Linked DNA regions of Homo sapiens: all the other regions are linked to region 1. The links are contacts of gene promoters, found by promoter capture Hi-C in blood cells and fetal thymus (Javierre and others, 2016). All regions are on one chromosome and are shown on one strand. The core of a region is centred on a gene start or on the middle of the fragment in contact, and the rest is flanking DNA. Distances in the headings are between cores, read along the strand shown. Region 1 holds the start of WDR7 (WD repeat domain 7). Region 2 holds the start of CFAP53 (cilia and flagella associated protein 53). Region 3 overlaps MEX3C (mex-3 RNA binding family member C). Region 4 holds the start of SKA1 (spindle and kinetochore associated complex subunit 1). Region 5 has its middle 6.7 kb from the start of CXXC1.

Region 1 (2,700 bases), core at 163-2,662:
CATATCCATGGCTGTATCTATATCTGTGTGACTCCTTTCTTGTGCTCAGTAGAGAGATTCTCCTTGCTAGCTTTGAAGGAGTATGCTGCCATGTTGCGAGAGAGCCTTTAGTAAGGCCCATGTGGTAAGGAACTGTGGGTGGCTGCTAGGACCTGATGGCCACTTCCAGTTCAGAGCCAGTAAGAAGCCAGGGCCCCTAGTCAGACAGCCACAAGGAACTGAATGAGCTGACAGGAGTTTGGAATCAGATTCTTCCCTAGTTGAGCCTCCAGATGAGAATTGCAGTTTGGCTGACATCCACTTGTAGCCTTGTGAGAGCATGAGCACAGGACTCAGCTAACCTGTTCCTGACCTCCTTGCCCATGGAATGTGAGGCAATACATATGTGTTGCTTTAAGCCACTAAGACACTAAGACTGTGATAATTTGTTGTAAAGCAATTTTAAAAACCTGAATACCATGTGGTTAGGAAAAGTGCTACACTATTTATTAGTCAAAAGTCTTCAATTACTTTTCATTGTCTTTGGAATAAAGACCAAAAAGCTTATATGGCCACTAAAAGCCTCTTGTTATCTACATTATTCTATTTTTCCATGTTACTTTTTTATTACCTGGTCTAGGCCGAATGTGATGAAGTCTCTATCAACCCACAAGAGAGCTCCAGGGCATAGACTGCCTGTTAAAGGAGCCGCTCACGGAGCAGAAACAGCTAAGCCCTGATACCACATTTTCCCACTTCACCTACTTCACGTCCCTTGTATTTCTTCCAAATTTAACTTTCTATTTATTGCATATATTCATGTTTTACATTTCAATGCTGGTGACAAAGTTGTTTTCCTTTCCCAATTATTATTCCAAATCTGACCAATTTTTCTAGACTTCCATATGACCTAATGTGATTATCCTTCCTTACCCCAACCTAGAAATAATTCATCTCTTTTCTTCCTTGCTCCTTATTTGGCATTTCTCATCCTGCACTATACTATAGCTTATCTATCTTGGGGGACATTTGTCATTCTTTTTAGCTTTCCAGCATCCAACATACTTTCCAGTGTTTAGGGAATTCCCTACCTCTTGCATCTCAGTGGGAAGCAGTGTGATGGGGTCAGAAGTGTAAACTTGCGCAACATCCTGCTCCCAAGAAAGACGTGCACTTGCTACTTCATCCTTCGCTCCATCTTGGTCCTCCCAACTGGAGAGAGGACAGCCTAGACGAGACTTCCCACAACCAAGATGGCGGCCGTGCACTCCTTGCCCACAGCTGGCCTTTTCTCCACTTTCGGTCTCCATCGTAACGCGGCTGGCTCTCTCGGCGCCGGCTTAGGCCTTGCAAGTAGGGAAATGGTGAGTCTTTCCCGCCCCCTCATTTTTGCGACAGTTGCAGCGAAAGTCACGGCAGTTGGGGCTGGTGTCAGCTGATTTACTGCAGTGGCGGCGGCGGCGGCACCGGCACCTTGCAGTATCACTGGGGAGACGGCGGCTGTATAGCGCTTGCCGCCCCACGGATTATCCCAGCAGGATCTACGCACCCCGCATCCTCCGTAGTTCCGCCCTATCCTTGTCCTCCTTGGCTGGGGCGCCCACCGGCGGTCTGATAGGCTACATCGCGGCATGAGATGAAGCTGTGACAGGTAAGGGGGCTTTCAAGCTTCTCCATGGGAAACCACAGGGCGGGATGTTCCTGCACCGTGGAGGTCAGGGGTCAGGGGTCAAAGGTCACAAACCCGCTCTAGCCGGGGGCGGTGCTAGCTGTCAGATCGCTGCGGCTGCAAGCCTGCAGGTCGGGCCCAAAAGTAGGCGCCGTTACCAAGAGCGTGGGGGCCAGCCGGGGGTCTTTGTGGCTCCCTTGCCTGGTGAGTGATATTTGCTACTTGTGACAGTTGCTTTGGTCTTGAGGTGGGACTGCCTGGTTCCCAGGTGCAATCTAAACGGGATCAGGTGATTGGTGATGATCGTTGGTGGTTATTGACAGCAATTTTGGGCGATGTGCTTGCTTTTGGGGTTCATATAGTCTTTCCTTTCCTGTTGGTACTATTTTTGCCCATGCCCAAGGTACTGACACCACTGTTAGAATTTCATTTTTGAGATGCCATCTGCCAGTTCTTATCCCTTTGCCCTAGTACTTGTCTGAGCGGATGCCAGTCACTCCCATTCACTTAGTGATGGGTCCCAGCGTTCTGAAGCTATGTTTGAAGTCAGCACTACCCTAACTTTGATTCAAAAATTGCTGTTTTATGTTTTTTACCCACTTAGTATGTCACTTTTTGAGGCAGAATTTGCTGGGTTAGATAGTCTGAAACTAGGGAACCTACCGTCGCATGACAGGCTGCATTGATATTGTTGATGCTGCTGAATTTAGGGTTCGGTCAGTGGCAGCTATAGCTTCCTCTCACTGTAATATTTGCCATGAGACAAAAAAAGGCAAACTGACTCTTTCAGGTGTTTATGTCTTAGGATTTTATGGGCAAGGTTGCAGGAATTGCCTGTTGTATGAAAGAAATTAACTGAGTTTTTGACATTTTGTAAAACAAAAATTTTAGTTTGACTCTGCTTCTTGCTTTATAAACAAACTCGTGGCTGTATGAAGGTCAGCTTAAAAGTGAACATAATGTGTTGAAATGCCCTCATTATTACAAAGAATAAAAAACTGTCTAGTTCCATCCAGAACAATACATATTAGTTATTATAAATTGGGAAAACG
Region 2 (2,700 bases), core at 100-2,599, 6.4 Mb before region 1:
AATTGGATTACAAGTTGAGCACCCCTAATTTGAAAATCTGAAATCTGAAATGCTCCAAAATCTGAAGCTTTTTGAGCACCCACATGATGACATAAGTGGAAAATTTCACACCTGACCTCATGTAAGGGGTCACAGTCAAAACACAAGCAAACAACACATATTTATTCAGCATCCCCAAGGGGAAAATAAAATTACCTTCGAGGTAATGAAATATAAATAAATTCTGTGTTTAGACTTGGGTCCCCTCCCCAAGATATTGCATTATGTATATGCAAGTATTCCAAAATCCAAAAAAAAAATCTGAAATCCTAGACATCTCTGGTCCCAAGCATTTCAGATAAGGGATACTTGACTTGTATAAGCTCCTTGAAGGGAGGGCTCAGGCTTCAATAAAGAGTTAACCTTCCAGGATCATTGTATCCACCCCTGTATCTCCCACAATACTGCGCACACAGCAGGGGCTCAAGCAATAACTCTGCCTACATGTTAGTTTTCTGGTGGGTAGAAACTAATTTGTAGAAACAAAAAAATCTACATGTATGGACCAATAGTGTCTGAGGTTCTCAGCAGGAACCATCAAATTCTGCAGCAAGCACATTTTCCTGGCCTACTACCACTCCAGCCTTAGAGGCAGGCACCTGAGTTTTTCCCAGGTCTGAAGGGACACTTCTGTCCAGCAATGGTTACTGGTTGAGTTGGCACAGGAAAGGCGTTGGGTGCTATAACCACTCACAACCTAATTCCCCTTCCTCAGACGATTTTCCTAGGAGTGAAAGACCAGCTCCAAATCATAGGCCCGCCCTGCCCCCAGATCTGTCTCTGGGCCGGGTGCCCTTTCCATAACACACACTCGCCACTGCATGGGGGACAGACATCCTTCCGGTGTCTTGGAGACTGAAAAACCCTAAGATCCCTAGTGGTGATTCTCCAAAAACAGAACCTAAATATTATAACTTTGGGGGCAGATGAAAGGCTGTAAGGATGAAAACAGAGGGAGATGAGTGGGTGAGAGGTGGGGTAGATAGGTGAGCGACCTTATCTTCCTTCTTTCAAAATTCAACCCACTGCATCAGGCGACACCCGTTCCCCTCGAGAAGGCCCCGGGTGGGGGCCGAAGTGGGATAGGCCAGGCCTGGAGTGCGGAGAGATGGAGAAAGCTGTAGGGTCTGGCAGACATATCCTGTGCTTACCACGATCACCACTTTGGGGGTGGGGCCCTTAACCTCCCGCTGTACGGTGCCAAACCGCTGGCTGTACATTTTCGAGTCCCCTTCGGGACGGGGGCGGCGTCCGCCGCGTTTCCCCCAACCGTGGCGACCTGCGGGACCCGCTTCCGCGACGCAGAAGTCTGGTTGCCATGGTGCGCCTCGCGGGATTAGGGGCCGGTAGAGGTGGGCGGGTCGGGCGGAAGTCGGTCTGGTCACCATGGGGGCCGCAGACGCCTGCACTCGGGACTTCCTCTTCCAGCTGAGAAGCTGAGCCTGCGCAGTCCTCACCCCGCCCCTCGGCCAAATCCCGCCGACCTTGCTCCCTTCCTCCAGGGTTCATCAGAATGGCAGAAAAAACCTCTAGCCCAAGAAAAATCAAAGCTCTAATTACAATTCCAGTTGACTTTGCTATTTATATCTTGTAATGGTCTAAAAGTATGAAAAAGGTTAGCGAACATTTTTTGGGAAGCTTAAATTTTGCACTATCTGTAGGTTAATCTTGATGACGGTAATAATCACAGGAAAACCTTATATTTGTGTAGTTCTTTACAATTTCCAAGATATTTTCACACACACAGCCTTTTAACCTCACAGATTTTTTCTGAGACAAGGTCTCGCTCTGTCGCCCAGGGTGGAGTGCAGTGGCGTGATCATGGCTCCCTGCAGCCTCGTCCTCCTGGGCCTCAGCCTCCAGAGTATCTGGGACTACAAAGCCTGCGCCACCACGCCCTGCTAATTTAAAAACAAATTTTGAAGAGACAGGGGGTCCCGCTATGTTGCTCAGGCTGGAACTCCTGCTCCTGGGTTCAAGCGATCCTCCCCACTGCCCCTCCCGCCGGCCTCCCAAAGTGTTGGAATTACAGGGTGCGCTACCGCGCGTGGCCGCAAATATCTTACAGGGTTGATAGAATAGCAAGTAATACTATCCTTATTTTCCAGCTAAGGCAAAGCTCAGGGAGCCTAAGTGCCTTGTCAAACCAAATAACCAGTAATAATAATAATTTTTTAAAACCTGTTAATAAAATCTTCCTATTTGCCATTGGCAGAAACCAGGGCTTAGACTCAGGATATCCTAGGATGGGGGCAGATCAAATGGACTAGTGGGGCAGTGGCACGACCTGGTGGAGCATAATTAAGAGTCTGAGGGTCACAGTGGACCAGGGTCAGGATGTGGATCAGAAGTCCAGTAACTGGTTTCTGAGAATCAGGATCCAGGCAGAACAGGAAACACAAATCAGGGAACCAGGACGGACCTGCAGCACAGGTGGTAACCACAGTTGCATTTCCAGTCAAGAGCAAGGTGGTAATACCTAAAAGCCAATTAAGAATGACACTGTGATACTCCCATTCTAAAGTGGGGGTGAGCATAGAACACTTGTGAGCACATGCAACAAATCAGTACCTACGTCAAACTGACATATAATAAGTACAACTAATGTGTATGCCCTCTTAAGGACGCAATTTACTGTAAATTAGCATTCCTTAATCATTT
Region 3 (2,700 bases), core at 73-2,572, 5.5 Mb before region 1:
AATACAAGGTTTAAATGGAAGAGCCAGCAATTTGTCTCCATGATCTAAGACATAATTAAATTCAACATTTCCTTATTAACCAAATAAACACAGCCCTCAAAAGAAAAACTAAGGCTTTATCTCATTTCCTATCACGTAATAGCTGGTACAAAATAAAAACTTGGAATTCACTTTACTTTTAAAAAACTGATTTCTATAAAGATTAACAACATACACAAGTAAGGGCCATTTAGCAGTGCTTTAAGGGGTGTCTACTATAATGAAGGACTAAAGTTTGTATTAAACTAAATCTATAAAATATGTTATCTTGTCCTTCAGTAAAACTGGCACGTAAATGTTTTCTTCCTTTGTTACCCTAGACTGTTACCATAAGCACACGGAAGCAACTTGTCCTGAGAAGTGGCATCTTCATATGGCATTCAGGCTTCTTCACATTCTGGTGTGAACGCCTGCCTTCCCCCTTTTCCACCACTCCCCTTTACAGACCTCAAGTATCAAAACAACACTACTTGGCAATTATACCTAGGCTAGTCCTCCACACCCCTCCTCACATTGTTCCTCCACAGTTTTTCAATCTCCATTTGTTAGACTCCTTCCTACCCATTTTCCAAGGCCCTCTCCATAGATGTTCTCTTACCTGAGACTTTGTCATACTAAATACACTATAGTTAGTGCCATTCTACTGTTTATTAGACTGTTATCTTCTTAAGGGCAGAAAGTCTGAATTAACTTCACATTCTCAATACCACAAACTCAAAACCTGGCAAAATACAAGCTTGGTACATAGCGATTCCTCAGTGTTCTTACATGAATGGTCAACTCATTCTGATCCAAATTGAGATGTTGTAATTTTATCCCATGTAAACAAAAGTTTTCTCCTGGATTATTACTCTAAGTATCGCCAAAACCAAACAATCCAGGAATCTGAAACTCATTAACCAGAAGAACGACAAGCATAAGCTACCTTTCAATTGAAAGGTCCAGCTTTGAACAGTGTCTGTAAGTGCCAATCATCAGGCAGTCTGAACTAAGCTATCTCCTTTATCCAGATTTCAGATGAGTTTTTATTAAAATCCTACAGATAGGAAAGAAATAAGCCAAGTCTGATATGTGAAACCACCATTTCGACAGAGCTCTTATTTATGTGTACTTTAGACCACCTGGGAAAGATGAGATCATTTAAGCGGCAGCGCCATCATCTCTCTTTATTTGACCCCAACAATGCTCTCAACCTAACAGTAAAGAGGCATGCAACAACCAGGCTAAACCACATTGTCATGCGGTGGCAGCAGGTAACATCTGCCCCTTTCATAAAGGGGAAATGCTACCATAAAGAACTTAGGACCTTCCCTAAAAATGTCGGATACAGAGGTACCCCAGGCATCCCCTTCCCCCACCTTCACAAATCTACTCCTGGAATCTGAGACACAGGTCCTTTGTCTGAACAATGTGGGAGGAGTCTGTCTGCAGTACTGGTGTGCTGGCAAGTGAAGAGGAGAATTAACTGAAAACTGTATAAACCGATGAAGTTTCTTAATTACCTTAGTGTCCATTTTTTCTTCATCCTGCACACTGAACAGTTTTAAAAGACAGCCAGTGTGTCAGTGTGTCTTTCCGAGAGTTGAAACGTACCGAGAGAAATACAGTTAAGATAGGCGGCAGTGAGTTGGGCTGCTTTTCCAAAGCTAAGTTTCTCAACAGCGGAGGGGCAGGGGATGGCGGTGATACCGACCATTTGAACACCCCTTCCCTCCCCAGTGAGCTCTGTCTACAGGCCTCCATTTCTGTTCTTTTCTCCATCTGAACAAGTTCTTGTAAGGGAGGCTGAACGCTTTTAGAAGACACTCGGCGGCGCAAACTTGCAATCTCGAAGCTTTCCGTACCCAACAGCGAACCCACAACTCCTCGAGCCCGACCTTTTACCACCTCACTGAGGTTTCTGGTGCCACGCCAGCCTGGTGTTCCACGAATACAGCCCAAGTAACGTGAACACCACCGGACTGGGTCGCCCGAGAAACTTCACACTTTTTACCAGGCAAGACGGGCGGAAAAGCGTGGGTTTTCGCAAGGTGACCCATCTTCACATCTGGTCGACCCTCGGCTCCTCCCAGACCCCTTCGCGGTGGACTTGGGGGCCTCGCCGGGTTCGCCTTTTCCGTCCCACGCTCCTTTCTCTCGTCTCCCCACCCACGCCCGGGGCCATGCCCAGCTGGACCTCCCCACCCCTGCACTCACCCTGGCGGCCGACGATCTCGGCGACGTGCTCGGAGCTGGGCACCGGGACGCACTCGGTGGTGTTGACGCTCTTTCTCCGGAGCAGGGCCGCCTGCTCCCCGTTCAGGGCGGCCGCCGCCGCCCCACAACCGCCGGGGCCGTAGGCGTGGGACAGCATCGCCGCCATCATGCCCTGGGCATCGTCCCCTCCGTACAGCACCCCCGCCGCCGCCGCCGCGGCCGCCGCCTCCCGGGCATCGAACCTGGCGGCTGGCAGCAGCACAGACCCCAGGGACCCGCCCGGGATCTGCTGGGTCTGAGAGGCGGTGGCCGCGGGCGGCGACAGCAGCAGCAGCGACGACCGGTCCTCCTCCTCTGCTTCCTCCAGCTCCTCCTCCTCCAGCAGGTCTCCGTCCAGCTCCGCTTCCTCCCCCTCCTCCTCGTCCTCTTCCAGCTCCAGCTCGGCCGCCTCCGGGGCCCCGGGCC
Region 4 (2,700 bases), core at 37-2,536, 6.3 Mb before region 1:
TGCTGCCTGGGAGAAAGACCTGAGGACAGGGGCTGGCAGCCTGAAGGTCCAAGTGCATAATAATAGCGCAGTGGAGCCAAGGGATGGACAGAACCTGGCGGTGCCACCACTCCAGCCTTGGGTGCTTTTCCCTCCTTTTCAACAGGGAGAATTAAACTTTTGTTTTTCTTATTTTAAATTTATATTTGCTCTTAAGTGGCAGGCCAGGTCTCACTAACAGCTGAACAGACAGGCCTCCGTAACCACTGTTTCAGCACTAGTTAAGTTAAATATTAAAAGCTGAAAGAGCCAGTGTCTTTATAGAAAGGCTGGTATGTAACAAAAGCCCACCAAGAGTTTTGCCCAGGCCTTTCCTGGTCCTTGAAGCATGAGAAAATAAAGAAGGAATTCTTAACAGGACCTGTTCAAGATTAAACAAGTTTTTATTGGGGGTCTGAAGAAACTCCCCCAGACCTCCACAAACAAGTTTATCGGGGGTCTGAAGGAACTGCCCAAACCTTCATGATTTAGCAGGAGACAAGATAAGGGTAATCACCTCTGGCACCTGCAGCCATCTAGATTAAGTAAATTTACTTAAATAAAGACCTTCCTTAGGACTGATCTTAGTTATAGATTAGAAACAGTTAATCATTTACGTCTTTACACACATGCACACTTACATGTAGACAGATAGTTTAGAAGGTATATAAGCTCTGGAAAACTTTGTAATTTTGAATCGATTTGGCGATATTTTCCAGGCCTTTTCCCTGTACCCGGTTACCGAAATAAACTCTTCTTTCCCAGTTCATCATGAGAATAAGCAGCCCAACCCCTGGTTTGGCCCGGGAACACTTACAGAGGCTGTCTAAGACCCAGAAGACAGGGTCACTGTTTCTTCCACACAAACTTAGCTGCTCTTTGGAATTTTCTGGGGTGTTTTTATAAATACTAAGGCTTGTGCCTCATTTCCCCAGTGTCTGATTTCACCGACTTGGGGTGTACTCTAGGCACTGAGACTTGTAATAGCTGCCCCTGGTGACTCTAAGGTGCAGCAAATGTCAAAGACCAGGACTTGGTGACGCCAGGTCCCTGGCTGGGCTGCGGTCAAGACTGCATGACCTGCTGAAATCTCCCCAGACTGGTTAGCGCGGAAAGAGCACCTCCGGGTTACCCTTTCGTCCGGAAGCCCCGCCTTCGCCGTCGCCCCGCCTTTCCCCGGCTCGGCCACCCCTCCTTCCCGCCCAGCTGTGGCCCCGGATGACGCAAACCGGGAACAGCGGCTGAGCCTGCGCTTCGGAAGCATGGATGTGCGCCTGCGCTGCGCTAGGGCGCGGCGGGCGGTTTGAATTTTGCTTACAGAGTCCCGTCTCACCATCCTGGGCTTCCAACGGAGACTGCGGTATCCGCAGCTGGAGACCCAGCGGCGAGTAGCCTTTTGCTCCCGGACGGACTTGAGGTTGGAGTCTGTGTGTTGGGGACCCTGCCTTTGGAAGCGCCCGAGGTAGCTGCTTGGCAGCTGGGGGCCGCGGACCGCGCCGGGCTTGGGGGAGGACGGGGCTGGAGGCTGGGTTGGATGCTTTAGACCCTCCCCTTCTCTCTCACCGGCGGAGTGGGTGGGAAACTGGTTCTTTCCCATTTCTCGGCCTCCTTACCGATCCCAAACTGTAAAGCCCCAACCCCTCACAGCACAGGAAAAATGATTACCTGGGCCCATTTCTTTGACAGTGTAACACATTTTTAAAAAATGTGTCCTTATTTTGCGTGTTTAAAGAAAATACCAATGTTGTCTTTATATACAAATAGTGCGTTTGTCCTCCTGAATCCTTAAGGAAAGGACCCAGGCTTATCCTCTTTCCCCTGGTTTGGGATCCATCGATGGCCTAAGGCTCTAAGACAAGTCAGTACGGTACCGTGGTTAGAAACTGAATGTTGTAGAAATGAAAGAAATTGCTCTTGAATTTTTGTGCTTAACCTTCAAAGACATGTGATTTACTTGACATTGACCATTCTTGGATTTCGAAAGTGAACAGAAATTTGTGTGGCTTTTCTTGTTACGAATATGTTTATGTTTTTTTCTTCAGAGGCTTAAAGGATGGCCTCGTCAGATCTGGAACAATTATGCTCTCATGTTAATGAAAAGATTGGCAATATTAAGAAAACCTTATCATTAAGAAACTGTGGTAAGTAAAACAGATTCCACTGACTTTGTATATACAAAATGCATTTTGATTATTCCACTCTGAATGATATCTTTGCTTGGTTAAGTGACTGCATCTTAGGTAATTTTAGATTTTTGCATAACGATTTTTTAAATAGTCCAATGTCATTTTGAATATTGTGGAGGATACTAAAAATGTAAGGTACATTGAACAATGAACTGAATATTCATTAGAATTATTTACTTATGTTTTTCTGAGACACATAGGCCAATGGTGAGATTTGAAGGTTATGTGGCATCCATGGTTCTACAGCTAAATAGAGATACAGTCATGCGTTCCTTAATGATGGAGATGTGTTCTGACAAAAGCGTTACATGATTTTGTCGTTGTGCAAACATCACATCATAGAATGTACGTAAATGTACACAAACCTAGATGGTATAGCCTACTACATATCTAGGCTATATAGCCTATTGCTCCTAGGCAACAAACCCGTATAGCATGTGACTGTACTGAATACCTTAGGCAAGTGTAACACAATGGTGAGTATTTGTGTATCTAA
Region 5 (2,700 bases), core at 39-2,538, 6.4 Mb before region 1:
TTGATTCTAGGCTCTACTAATACTAGCTGCTTTACATTGCAGAGTGTAGTTAATCTTTCTGAGAACTTTTTCTCATCTATAAAAATGGGCAAAATTAACATCCTCCTAGAAAGACATCTGAGAGAATAATATGAATTAGGTCCAGAATGGGAACTCTCCAAATAGTGCCATGCGGTAAAAGATTAACTCAGCAGGCCTTGGTTGTTCAAACCTTCACATGAAAAAAAAATCTGATATTTGACTGGCTCTTGGGAGATAACCTTAAAGTGCTCAGAATTACTTGCCTAATAAGAATGTTCAGCTGGGCACAGTGGCTCACATCTGTAATCCCAGCACTTTGGTAGGCCAAGGTGGGTGGATCACCTGAGGTCAGGAGTTCAAGACCAGCCTGGCCAAGATGGGTAAACCCTGTCTCTACTAAAAATACAAAAATTAGCCAGGTGTGGTGGCGGGTGCCTGTAATCCCACTTACTCAGGAGGTTGAGGCAGGAGAATTGCTTGAACTCAGGAGGTGGAGGCTGCAGTGAGCCCAGATCACGCCATTGCACTCCAGCCTGGATGACAGAGCAAGACTCTGTCTCAAAAAGAAAAAAAGAATGTTTATATTTACCTAGGATCTTGGTCCACACCAGATAGTTTATGATAGCAATGTGATTTGTGGTGGGGACCTTGGGCCACAGGGTATCAATATGAACTCTGGAGAGGCCGGAGACTGAGTAACCAAGGTCAGCAATGGCACCCTCCATACTCATGTAACCAATCCCCTAATAAAAACCCTGGACACCAAAGCTTGGATGAGCTTCCCTGGTTTGCAATACTTCATTCATGTTATCACAACACTGTTTCTGGGATAATTAAGTGCTGTTTATATGACTCCTCTAGGAGAGGAGAACTGGAAGCATGGTCTTTCCTGTACTATAGCCTATGAGCCTTTTTGCTCATTCAATCTGTATTCTTTTGCTGTAACAAACTAATTGGGAGCTTAGCAGTGTTTTTGTATTCTGTGTGTTCTTCTAGTGAGTCATTGAACCTGAGGATGGTCTTAGGACACCTGACACAAATATCCTTTTTCCTCATATATTATACTTTCAAGCTGATGTCTCTGAAATGTTTAAAGACTGCCAAATGTCATGAACCAGTCATTTAATATCATTGATGAGGAGGACTTGTTTAGTAGCTTTAATTCTAATCTGCTCCCTCCCTACTACAGCTTCCCCGTCCCTAACAGCCACATTTCTTTTTTTTTTTCTAGATAGAGTCTCACTTTTGTCACCCAGGCTGGAGTGCAGTGATGCAATCTCAGCTCACTACAACCTCCGCCTCCCAGGTTCAAGTGATTCTCCTGCCTCAGCCTCCTGAGTAGCTGGGATTAGAGGTGCCCACCACCACACCCAGCTAATTTGTATATTTTTAGTGGAGATGGGGTTTCACCATGTTGGCCAGGCTAGTCTCGAACTCCTGACCTCAGGTGATCTGTCCACCTTAGCCTCCCAAAGTGCTGGCATTACAGGTGTGAGCCACCGCACCTGGCCCACATTTCTTATCACACTCAGGTTCCTAGAGAGGAACAAGTGCACCAGTTTTCTAATCTGACTTCTTCCTTTCCCACTTACGCCCTCTGAAAAAACCAAAAAGAATTAAATAGGCTTGCTTCTCTGGTTTGGTGGTAGATTCTTCTACTTTTTATTCCTACCCAACTCCTACGAACCAATTTCTATCCTGAATAGGTCAGTTTCTATCCATCGCAAAGCTCATCTGTAAATATCACCTTGAATTTTATAGCCTGCAGAAGCTTCCAGTTTGTGTTTTTTAGCCCCAGATCATGATGTCCTTGGTCCTACAGAAGACAGAGCAAATCTGAGGTTTGTCATACACAAAATGGAGCATTATAAAACCCTTTGGTACTGGTCTGTGTTCATGATAATTTTTTTTCTTGATTATCCCTGTGTTCTCTTCCAAAAGTTGCCGTTACAGACACCAGAACACTCCTGTAATTTTGTTAATCTGCAATGGTTTCATATATGAGCAAGTTGTTTCCTCAATGAAATTATAAACTCCCTGAAGGTAAGAACTAAGCATCTCTTGAAGAGTAAACCACACAAGGTGAATTGAATCCACAGTTGTGTTTCCTGCAGTGCTGTGAACACAGAATTGGTTTCATTACCATCTCTGTAATTGTCTATGTGCAAAGGGGGTTTTTAATGTGGCTTCTCGGGGTTGGTTTGAAGGAACAACAGAATAGAGGTGCTTGACCAACAGTTTAAGTTGCCTTCGTCTGGAGTACTGTGGAAGGCCCATCAATAATCTGCAGCACGCAGCATTCCCCAGGCCTCCTTCACTGTTTCTGTCCTTGAAGGTACCTGCTGTTCCCATTTCCAAGCCTGCAGGACCAACTCTACACAGCAAGTTCTCACAATTCAATTACAATCAAATCAAGCAGGCTCAGGAAAATCTCAAGAGTCACTTAGAGCAGCAGGAACCCAGGAACACATGGCTGGTTAACCACCTATTCAGGCACTGTCTCCTGCCTGGGCCAATCCCCTTTTCCATGTCACACACTACACATAGCAAGGGGACAACTATCCTGGGAGTCTAGGGGAGAGTAAAAGTGTTCACGATCCCAATGATAATTCTCCAGGTATGGAATTTGTATATTTTAAATCTGGCCTATGAGAGATGTGGGGTGGGGGAATTAGGGGC

What was found. The method cuts DNA at HindIII sites, captures the fragments that hold promoters and counts their contacts. A CHiCAGO score of 5 or more calls a contact.
Region 2: a contact is called between the fragment with the promoter of CFAP53 here and the fragment with the promoter of WDR7 in region 1, in 3 of 17 cell types (non-activated CD4 T cells, total CD8 T cells and activated CD4 T cells). The highest score is 13.5, in non-activated CD4 T cells.
Region 3: a contact is called between a fragment that was not itself captured here and the fragment with the promoter of WDR7 in region 1, in 1 of 17 cell types (activated CD4 T cells). The highest score is 10.4, in activated CD4 T cells.
Region 4: a contact is called between the fragment with the promoter of SKA1 here and the fragment with the promoter of WDR7 in region 1, in 1 of 17 cell types (non-activated CD4 T cells). The highest score is 7.5, in non-activated CD4 T cells.
Region 5: a contact is called between a fragment that was not itself captured here and the fragment with the promoter of WDR7 in region 1, in 1 of 17 cell types (non-activated CD4 T cells). The highest score is 5.9, in non-activated CD4 T cells.

What each region holds. Positions count from the first base shown.
Region 1 is chr18:56,649,947-56,652,646 of GRCh38, forward strand. It overlaps WDR7 (WD repeat domain 7), which reads left to right and starts at 1,413. Exons shown (of 28, transcript NM_015285.3): 1 at 1,413-1,630. RefSeq lists an enhancer at 1,144-1,533. The HindIII fragment of the contact is 1,105 bases long and covers 541-1,645 here.
Region 2 is chr18:50,265,146-50,267,845 of GRCh38, forward strand. CFAP53 (cilia and flagella associated protein 53) reads right to left here and starts at 1,350. Exons shown (of 8, transcript NM_145020.5): 1 at 1,191-1,350. The coding sequence starts at 1,259. It also overlaps a transcript of MBD1 not described here. RefSeq lists enhancers at 754-1,599, 946-1,075, 1,246-1,315. The HindIII fragment of the contact is 1,610 bases long and covers 66-1,675 here.
Region 3 is chr18:51,194,332-51,197,031 of GRCh38, forward strand. MEX3C (mex-3 RNA binding family member C) reads right to left here. Exons shown (of 2, transcript NM_016626.5): 1 at 2,236-2,700. Among named protein-coding and RNA genes, the nearest start is that of MEX3C, 2.0 kb to the right of the region's middle. RefSeq lists silencers at 368-662, 2,314-2,363, 2,384-2,433, 2,694-2,700 and enhancers at 1,354-1,975, 1,604-1,653. The HindIII fragment of the contact is 1,098 bases long and covers 774-1,871 here.
Region 4 is chr18:50,373,760-50,376,459 of GRCh38, forward strand. It overlaps SKA1 (spindle and kinetochore associated complex subunit 1), which reads left to right and starts at 1,287. Exons shown (of 7, transcript NM_145060.4): 1 at 1,287-1,435; 2 at 2,061-2,159. The coding sequence starts at 2,072. LOC105372114 (a long non-coding RNA gene) reads right to left here and starts at 1,119. Exons shown (of 3, transcript XR_935466.3): 1 at 836-1,119. RefSeq lists a silencer at 1-74. The HindIII fragment of the contact is 8,258 bases long and covers 1-2,700 here.
Region 5 is chr18:50,293,031-50,295,730 of GRCh38, forward strand. No RefSeq gene overlaps it. Among named protein-coding and RNA genes, the nearest start is that of CXXC1, 6.7 kb to the left of the region's middle. The HindIII fragment of the contact is 1,003 bases long and covers 788-1,790 here.